2 separate regions of the Homo sapiens genome follow, and region 1 is linked to region 2. Evidence: promoter capture Hi-C in human tissues and cell types (Jung and others, 2019). All regions are on one chromosome and are shown on one strand. The core of a region is centred on a gene start or on the middle of the fragment in contact, and the rest is flanking DNA. Distances in the headings are between cores, read along the strand shown.

Region 1 (4,914 bases), core at 2,080-4,579, 1.4 Mb before region 2:
CGCCCATGACCTCAGTGTTAGAAATCTACACAGATGTCTGGGCACGGTGGCTCACACCTGTAATCCCAGCACTTTGGGAGGCCAAGGTGGGTGGATCACTTGAGGCCAGGAATTCAAGACCAGCCTGGCCAACATGGTGAAACCCCATCTCTACTAAAAATACAAAAAAATTAGCCAGGCCTGGTGGTGCATGCCTGTAATCCCAGCTACTCGGGAGGCTGAGGCACGAGAATCTCTTGAACCCGGGAGGCAGAGGTTGCAGTGAGGCAAGATCACGCCACTGCACTCCAGCCTTGGCGCCAGAGCAAGAGTCAATCTCCAAAAAAAAAAAAAAAAAAAAATTCCAGCCCGGCGCAGTGGCTCCCGCCTGTAATCCCAGCACTTTGGGAGGCCGAGGTGGGCAGATCACCTGAGGTCGGGAGTTTGAGACCAGCCTGACCAGCATGGAGAAACCCCATCTCTACTAAAAATACAAAATTAGCCAGGCGTGGTGGCACATGCCTGTAATCCCAGCTACTTGGGAGGCTGAGGCAGGAGAATCGCTTGAACCTGGGAGGCGGAGATTGCAGTGAGCCGAGATCGTGCCATTGGATTCCAGCCAATGGAATGGCCAACAGGAGCGAAACTCCATCTCAAAAAAAATGAAAATCCATACAGATGCCCCTGTTGCTTGTTTCTGTAAGAAGCGGCTGCTGCCTCATCCTGGATGAATGGAGAGGTGCTCAGGAGGTGCTGTGTCGAGGATGTGCTGTGTCAAGGACCTCGCCTGTGGGAAAGCGAGGCGCGGGGCTGGCTTTGTGCTCACGAACGGGTGTTCTGAAGGCAGACCTGCCTGAGGGGGGCCTCGAGAGTTTGGCTGGCTGTGCCATGTGGTGCCTATGCTTGGCAGTGCCTGAGCAGGTCCTGCTGCCGAGCATTCCACGGGCTTCTTCCCCAGACTGCCTTTGCACCAGCCTGCAGTGGTGTGGCCAGGAGTGGGCTTCACGAGGGCTGCTTGCCTGGCCCCCATCACACCAGGCTGGAACTGCAGCTGGTGAGGGCCCCCACGCTTTGGCTGCTGACTCTTCTTGCGCATTGGGCTCAGGCCTAGACCTGAGGTGAGGCTCTGTGAATGCATTGGCAGCAGGGCACGGACACTTACTTGTACCTCTGCCTGAGGCCTTGCTGGACCCTGTGGAGCTGAGCACTCTTTTGCTGGTGTCTCCTGTCCCAACAGTAGTGAGGCTTGAGGGTGACAGCGTCCTTCAGGGCAACAGTGTCCTTCTGCAAGATGTTTTTTTTCTTTGAGTTGGAGTCTTGCTCTGTCGCCCAGGCGGCTGGAGTGCAGTGGCGCGATCTCGGCTCACTGCAAGCTCCGCCTGGCGGGTTCATGCCATTCTCCTACCTCAGCCTCCCGAGTAGCTGGGACTACAGGCGCCCGCCACCATGACCAGCTAATTTTTTTTTTTGTATTTTTAGTAGAGACGGGGTTTCACTCTGTTAGCCAGGATGGTCTCGATCTCCTGACCTCGTGATCCACCCACCTCGGCCTCCCAGAGTGCTGGGATTACAGGTGTGAGCCACCGCGCCCGGCCCTGCAAGATGTTTTATGAAGAGTCCATTAATAAAAACCCTGAACCCCTCCGTAAAGCAGTCATGCAAATGATAATATTGGATTTATATTTAAAATAAACATTGGCATGTTGAAATTAATCATCTCTGTAGAATTTGCACTTACACCTTACCGTCTTAGGTTGATATTGTTTGGATGCCTTAGGTCTTGGATTAACTGCTATTCCTGGGAACACCTAACACATGGAACAGCTGAGCAAACATGGAGGAAGCCCTTAATTTGCATATATAAATGTTGTGTTACTACTTAACATGTTTAAGGAAATGTTTAAAAAGTAGCAAGTTGTTTTTTTTTTTAAGTTCAACTTAAATTCCACAAGTCTTTGAATGTTAGTAAGGAAAAGATTTTTTTTTTGTTTTTCGTTTTTTTTTTAGACAGAGTTTCGTTCTTGTTGCCCAGGCTGGAGTGCAATGGCACAATCTCGGCTCACTGCAACCTCCACCTCCTGGGTTCAAGCGATTCTTCTGCCTCAGCCTCCTGTGTAGCTGAGATTACAGACATGTGCCACCATGCCTGGCTAATTTTGTATTTTTAGTAGAGATGGGGTTCCTCCATGTTGGTCAGGCTGGTCTCAAACTCCCGACCTCAGGTGATCCGCCCACCTCAGCCTCCCAAAGTATTGGGATTACAGGCATGAGCCACCATGCCCGGCCTAGGAAAAGATTTTTTTAAAATACTGGGCTATCAGGAGGCAGAGGTTGCAGTGAGCTGAGATTGTGCCATTACACTCCAGCCTGAGCTACAAGAGCGAAACTCCATCTCAAAAATAAATAAATAGATAAAATACTGGGTTATATTTAAATTTAATGCTTTAATACATTAAATTATAATTATAAGGCCAGGCGCGGTGGCTCACGCCTGTAATCCCAGCACTTTGGGAGGCCGAGGCAGGCGGATCACGAGGACAGGAGTTCGAGACCAGCCTGACCAACATGGTGAAAACCCATCTTTACTAAAAATATAAAAATTAGCTGGGCGTGGTGGCACGTGCCTGTAATCCCAGCTACTCAGGAGGCTGAGGCAGGAGGATGGCTTGAACCCACGAGGCGGAGGTTGCAGTGAGCTGAGATTGTGCCACTGCCCTCCAGCCTGGGTGACAGAGCGAGACTCCATCTTAAAAAAAAAAAAAAAAAAAAAAAAAAAAAAAATATATATATATATATATATATATATATATAAAAAACAGATAAAACAGATGCTAATATAATCCCTAAGGTTAGATATAGTCACCAGTTTTTTTGTTGTAAAGAGATTTGATCTGTAAGACATAAGCCCTGGAAATCAGCAGGGTTACAGGAAACCCATCATGGGCTGGATCTGTATGTTGAATGCCCTGGGTAGGTTCTCACAGTGCTTCAAATGCAGCTTTTGGAGTGGTTTTCATGTACATTTTCCCCATTCCCCATTCCAAGGTAATGTAAATGGGAAAAAAAGAAACCACACAAAGAGGATACAGGACCCTACAGAAGATGCTGAAGCTGAGGACACACCCAGGAAAAGACTCAGGACGGACAAGCACAGTCTTCGGAAGGTAATTGTGTTCCAGGTTTGCTTGACCTGTCAGAGTGTATGCTCTGTGACTCTTGGTGCCACTGTTTCCCTGCATGGGAGCACACATGAGATGCAGGTGTCAGTGCACCCAGCTCCTTCCAGGCTGGTATTCAGCAGAAGGCTTGCATTTCTTACAGAACCCCATTGAGAAAGGCTGCTTGCAGGTTCTTACCCTCCAGGGGTGTTATCACAGAAACCGATGGTGTGTTGCTCTGCAAGAAAACAGACATCCAAATGCTTTGAGTAATACTTGTTTTTTAGATTGGACAAAATTGTCACTAAAAATAACCTCTTTGGCCGGGTGTGGTGGCTTACGTCTCTAATCCCAGCACTTTGGGAGGCCGAGGCAGGTGGATTGCTTGAGGTCAGGAGTTCGAGACCAGCCTGGCCAAGATGGTAATACCCCGTCTCTACTAAAAATACAAAAAATTAGCTGGGCATGGTGGCGTGCACCTGTAATCCCAGCTACTCAAGAGGCTGAGGCAGGAGAATTGCTTGAACCTGACAGGCAGAGGTTGCTGTGAGCTGAGATCATGCCACTGCACTCCAGCCTGGGCGACACAGCAAGATTCTGTCTCAAAAAAAAACAAACAAAAAAACCCCCAAACACCATAACCTCTCTATAGGGCTTATTATTCAGGATGTAAGTAATGAACTGGCATCAAAGTCCATTAGAGATATGTGTTACATGTCAATAAAAAGTCAACAGTTCATTAAAGGCAATGAACCTAGATTTTATTTAGTTTATTAGTAATTCATGTTATTGTTTACTGAATGGGAATACTAAACAGGCTGTGCAGGAAAAGTGCAGCATAGATACAAAGCCAGCCCCGGGTCCTTGTGCTCCTCGCTTACTGCCAGCATGTGTCCAGGGACAGAGTTTGCCTGGTACCTGCAGGGGAGTGAAACCAACCAAGGAAACACCGGGTTATTCTGTCTAGCGTATGGTGCCCATGCATGTAGAAGACGTGAGCCCTTTTCCTAGTGTATGAAGTGGTGCCATTCATTTCAACTGTCTCAGATGTCCGGTTAACTTTTTCATGAACTGAGACTTTAATTAGACTTTGTACTTTGTTTGAATTTCTATTTTATTCGATAATAGTTCTGGCCGGGTGTGGTAGCTCACACCTGTAATCCCAGCACTTTGGGAGGCTGAGGCAGGTGGATCACCTGAGGTCAGGAGATCAAGACCAGTCTGGCCAACATGGTGAAACCCCATCTCTACTAATAATACAAAAATTAGTCGGGTGTGGTGGTGCATGCCTGTAATCTCAGCTACTCGGGATGAGGCAGGAGAATCACTTGAACCTGGGAGGCGGAGGTTGCAGTGAGCTGAGATTGCGCCACTGCACTCCAGCCTGGGTGACAGAAGGAGACTCCATCTCAAAAAAAAAAAAAAAAAAAAAAGTTCTGACAGAGTAGTTGTATATTTGTGATTTTGAGTAAAGCTTCATCCTGTTTTTCACTGATCTGAGTTAAAATGCTCTTTTTATTTCAAAGAATGGAAAATACATCTCACATATTGCTAAGGTGTAAATATGTGGACACCATATCATTTACCTTATTTCTTTAAACTTGTATTTGTAGTTGAGAGGAGCAGGCAGGCCCTGCGCCATTTTTCTGGCCCACAGAACATTCTTCTGGGGCACCTGCCATAGGTGAGGTTGTTGAGTGATCAAGTGTTCAGCAGTAAGCTAGGTCAGATTCACCTGTAGTCACTAAGGTTTGTAGTTACCAGGAAGCCTGCACTT
Region 2 (4,534 bases), core at 1,204-3,703:
CGAGTCCCGTGGAAGAATTATCATCCATCCCACTTGTTCAACTCAGGAGTGCCTCCTTAAGCAACTGTAGCCTATGAGCTGTGGGTAGGGCCGCTGAGCCGCTGCCTGGCAGGCACGGAAGAGCAGGTGCACGCTTCTCCATGGCCCTCCCTGTGCCAACAGAGGCCGCCCTGCCAGTCTGGGCCCAAGAGTGAAGCCTACAGGAGGAGAACCACAGGGGCCAGGGACTGACCACCCAGAGACTTGGGCATGGTTCTGTGTCTAGCCCCTCCAGATGGACTGAATGAGTTTTGCTTAATTGGCAAGACCTACCTTTTCAAAACCTTCCAGCATGACACTTGACACCTTCTCTCCGTCTCAGGCAATTTCTCCCCACTTCTGGGGGCCCTGGCTTTCACGGGGATGGACTAGGGTGCTTCCTCCCACAGAAACAGCTTCTTGGGCCACCCCCCTGCTGGGCATGAGTTCTCTCACAGGCTCGGTGACCCCTCGTATGAGCTGCTCGTCCTCTTCCCCTACCCCTGTCCATGAGGCACCTGGAGGCCGGGCAAGTGTAGAGGAAAAAGCCAAAGGGAAAGAAGAGACCTGCAGGTGGTGTTTCCCCATCTCTCACTCAGGGCCACTTGTCCCTGCCCTGGAGCCTCAGGAGGCTGAGCTCTGCGGCCTGCTTCCTTCTGGCTTGGCGCTGCTCTGGAAGATTCCACCATCTGCGCATAGGCAGGAGCCAAGAAGGTCCACAGTTTTGGGGGGGCCAGGGTGGGGGCAGTTTCTTTCCTGGCTCTTTTTTTTTTTTTTTTGAGATGGAGTTTCACTCTGTCACCTAGGCTGGAGTGCAGTGGCACAATCTCGGCTCACAGCAACCTCCGCCTCCGGGGCTCAAGTGATTCTCCTGACTCTGCCTCCCAACTAGCTTCGACTATAGGCGCGTGCCACCACGCTTGGCTAATTTTTTGTATTTTAGTAGAGATGGGGTTTTGCCATCTTGCCCAGGGTGGTCTCGAACTCCTGAGCTCCGGCGATCTGTCCGCCTCAGCCTCTCAAAGTGCTGGGATTACTGGCACGAGTCACCGCGCCTGGCCTCTTCCCTGGCTCTCTCTGCTGGGTCATCAAGGGCTGGCTGTGTCCCTTGGCCATAGGTCGCAGCTCCTGTTAAGTATCTCTCTCTCTTTGTCTGGCTTCCTGTAACCGCTCTGGCCGCGCTCCTTCAGCCCTGCAGGTGAAAACAGTTCCCTCCCTGCTGTTACCTGTCCCAATTCAGCACCGCCCTGTGGCTTCCCGGCTCCCGGACCGCGCCTCTGCCAGCGGGAACCCTGCTGGACTCTTAATTAATTGTCCCACTGAGAATGCCATTGGTTTCCTCCTGGGATCCAAACTAATCACACAAGACTAGATGATGGAGAGCTGCCAAGAAACCATGGGGCGGTGGCGGGGACGGAGGGGAAGCGTTTTGAGCCCATCAAGGCAGGTGACAGGAAAGAAGCAAACCCGAGAGGGGCCGAGTCCCTGGGCGGGCGGCAGGGCTGGAGCGTGAACAGCAGCGACGGATGCGTCTCGAGGGAAAAACGCGGCGGGAGAGAATGAGGGGAAGGCAGGAAGGAAGGGGCAGGGAGACCCAGCGCCGGGGAAGGAAGACACGAAGAGGGCGAGGAAGGAACTCCGGCCTAAAGGGTGAAGGCGGCGGCTGGGACAGGGCCAGAGGCGCAGGCCGGGGCCGGGCAGCTCCTCCTCTCGTGCCAGCGGTGCCTCCGGTCCCGCCCTCGCTGCTGCCCGCGCTCCGGGAGGGGCAGACCCGCTGGACGCCGCAGTCACCGCGCCGCCTTCGCGGGCGTCCCGGGGCCCGGAGGGAACGGCCTTTCCTGGCTGTCCCCGTGGCTTCGCCGCGGGAACTCACGCCGCCCCCGAAGCTGCCGCCAGCTCCGGGCATCTGCCCAGCCGAAAAGCCAGGGCGCCGGGGCCTGACTCCCCACAGCCAGGTTTCCCGGGCACAGAGACCCAACGGGAGCGGGACTTCCTCGGACACCGACGGCGAAGGACAGAGACAGCCCAGGCAGGGGCGGCTCCTCCCGGCCACACCGACCTGCCCTTCGCAGGGTGTCCCGGGCCAGCGGAGGCAGAGAAAACCAGCTTGCGGGAACGCAGTCGCTCCCAGCACCAGGGCCGGGCCAGTGCGGGTACACACCGTGCGCACCAGCGCCGCCGCGCCCCCAACGGAAGTCCCGCCCCCGGCCGTGGAGGCCCCGTCCCTCGCTTCTTCTCATCCCTGCTTCCCTGGCAGTCCCGTTACCACGCTGTCCCGACGCGAAGGCCCTCGCCCCGCCCCGTGCCCCGCCCCCGCATCGCCCCGCCCCAACCCCACCCCCTTGGCCCCGCCTCACCAGGTTCGCCCCGCCCCTCTCCGTCCCCGCCCCTCCTCCGGCCTCGGCCCCGCCCTCGCCTCGACCCCGGGGGGCGGTGGCTGCCGAGGCGACCGTTGCGCGCGCGGGCGGTGGCGCGGGCCGAAGCGCCCGGAGCGGGAGCGAGCGGCGCGGCCCGGTAGGTGTGCGGGGCCGGGGCCGGGGCGGGGGCAGGGCGCGCCGCCTCCGCTCTTTCTTTCGTCTCCGGGGCGCGCGCCCGCGCCCTCCGCCTCCCGGCCGATCCCGGCCAGCCCTGCGCGGCGCCCGTCCCCTCGGGGTCGCCGCCCGCCCGCCCTGCCTTTTGTTCGCCGGCCTGACTCAGGCTCCTGGTCCCGGGCCCGGCGCGGGGCGGGGCGGGGCGGGGGCGGGGGCGGGCGGCGCGGGGCGCGGGCCTGTGGGGCCTCCGGCCGGGCGGGTGCGCGGCCTCCTGGGGCCCCGCGCTGTGAGGCCCGCCCGGGCCCTTGGCGGGACCCGCGGGGGCGGCGCCGGGCAGGGGGTCCCGCGGGCGAGATGCGCCCGGGAGCGCTGGGAGGGTTCCCTCGTCGGACTCCACGAGCGGCCGCTTTGTTAGGGCAGAAGCTGCCTTCCGAGACCCGAACTCCAGACGCACTGCAGCGACCTGGGGTCGCCTCAGCCGCGGTGCCGCGATTGTGCAGTGTAGACAGAGGGGTCCCAGAGCCGTGCGGTGTAGACAGAGAGGGGCCCAAAGCTGTGGAATGGGGACAGAGAGGGGACCCAGAGCTGTGGAGTGTAGACAGAAAGGGCGCCCAGAGCCATGGAGTATAAACAGTGGAGTGTAGACAGAGAGGGGGCCCAGAGCTGTGGAGTGTGGACAGAGAGGGGGCCCAGAGCCGTGGAGTGTAGACCGAGAGGGGGCCCAGAGCCGTGGAGTGTAGACAGAGAGAGGGCCCAGAGCCATCTAGTGTAGACAGAGAGGGGACCCATAGCTGTGGAGTGTAGACAGAGTCTCATAGCCGTGCAGACAGAGAAGGGGCCCAGAGCCATGGAGTGTAGACAGTGGAGGGTGAACACAGAGGGGGCCCAGAGCCGTGGAGTGTGGACAGAGAGGACCACCTGGCCTCTCACCTGCTTGGTCACTTGCTGGGAATGTGTCCCTGGGCAGGTGACCACCTTCTCTGTGCCTGAGTTTCCTCATTGGACCTGTCTTTGGAGCTGCTGCAAGGGCTAAGAGTGTCTTTGTCTGAAGTCCTCAGCGTGGTCCATGCCGTCCTGTGCAGGGCCCTTCTGAGGCCACAGGGACGTGCAGGATGGCCGGCAAGGCCTGCACAGAAGGGGCGCTGGGGGGCCTTCCCAGGCAAGGCAGCAGCCCCACCATTCACAGCAAGGAGACTACCAAGGAGGGCAGAGAGGCGGCTTTGGGCAGCAAGGGCTGCTGGGGTGGAGTCCTGCTGGCCTTCCCCTAGAGAAGGCGACGTGGGGAGGGCAGAGCAATTCTGAGTAAGGGAGAACCAGTTTATATTTCACTTTAGAAAGTAATTGTCACAGTGCGAAGTTTCTTCCCCTGAAAAAGCGATATAAAAAGGTCCATCGTGGCCAGTGCTTTTGGGGACTTGAGATGATGGGTATCCGGTGCCCGGGCCCTGCGTGGTGCCTCAGCTGGATGCTCTGCAGGTGGGGGAGGCCATGTTGGCTGAGGGCAGGGGCTCAGGCAAGGGCAGTGGGGTGGCTGAGCCTGCACAAGTTGGTGCACCCCTGTCTGGGTCTTTTTCTTAAAACTGCAAGTCCAGCCTTATCTCTGAGACCTCCTGAGGCTGGAACCTGCCATCAGACAGGCTTACAGTTCTAGCCCTGGTAACTGCAATGATGCGGATGCCTCTGTGACTGGCAGAGCAGAGGGAGGAGCGACAGGGCAGTGGTGACCGGAGGTCTCAGGGAGGTTGACAAAGACAAGGGCGGAGGAAAGGCCCCTCACGTGGACTGGAGGTACAGTACTGACCTGTGGAGTGCTCAGGAGAGGGCAGGGGTGGCGCGGCCTGAGGGCATGTCCTGGGGAGGGTCAGGAGGTGGGAGGGAGGCACTCGACAGGCACTGCAAAGAGGAGGGAATCCAGGGTCAAGGGCTGGCTCCCTTTCTGCCCTGTTTAGGATGAGGGTCTCGGGGAAGAAGGGGTGGCCAGGCCG

The links. The method cuts DNA at HindIII sites, captures the fragments that hold promoters and counts their contacts. A contact is called where the count stands out against the background at its distance.
Region 1: a fragment that was not itself captured here is called in contact with the fragment with the promoter of RGS12 in region 2 in 1 of the 25 tissues and cell types used here (psoas muscle).

Annotation. Positions count from the first base shown.
Region 1 is chr4:1,932,120-1,937,033 of GRCh38, forward strand. It overlaps NSD2 (nuclear receptor binding SET domain protein 2), which reads left to right. Exons shown (of 22, transcript NM_001042424.3): 7 at 3,025-3,143. Among named protein-coding and RNA genes, the nearest start is that of MIR943, 52 kb to the right of the region's middle. The HindIII fragment of the contact is 3,686 bases long and covers 1,487-4,914 here.
Region 2 is chr4:3,290,568-3,295,101 of GRCh38, forward strand. It overlaps RGS12 (regulator of G protein signaling 12), which reads left to right and starts at 2,454. Exons shown (of 18, transcript NM_001394154.1): 1 at 2,454-2,532. RefSeq lists silencers at 1,760-1,869, 2,050-2,529, 2,540-2,589 and an enhancer at 3,243-3,828. The HindIII fragment of the contact is 22,100 bases long and covers 1-4,534 here.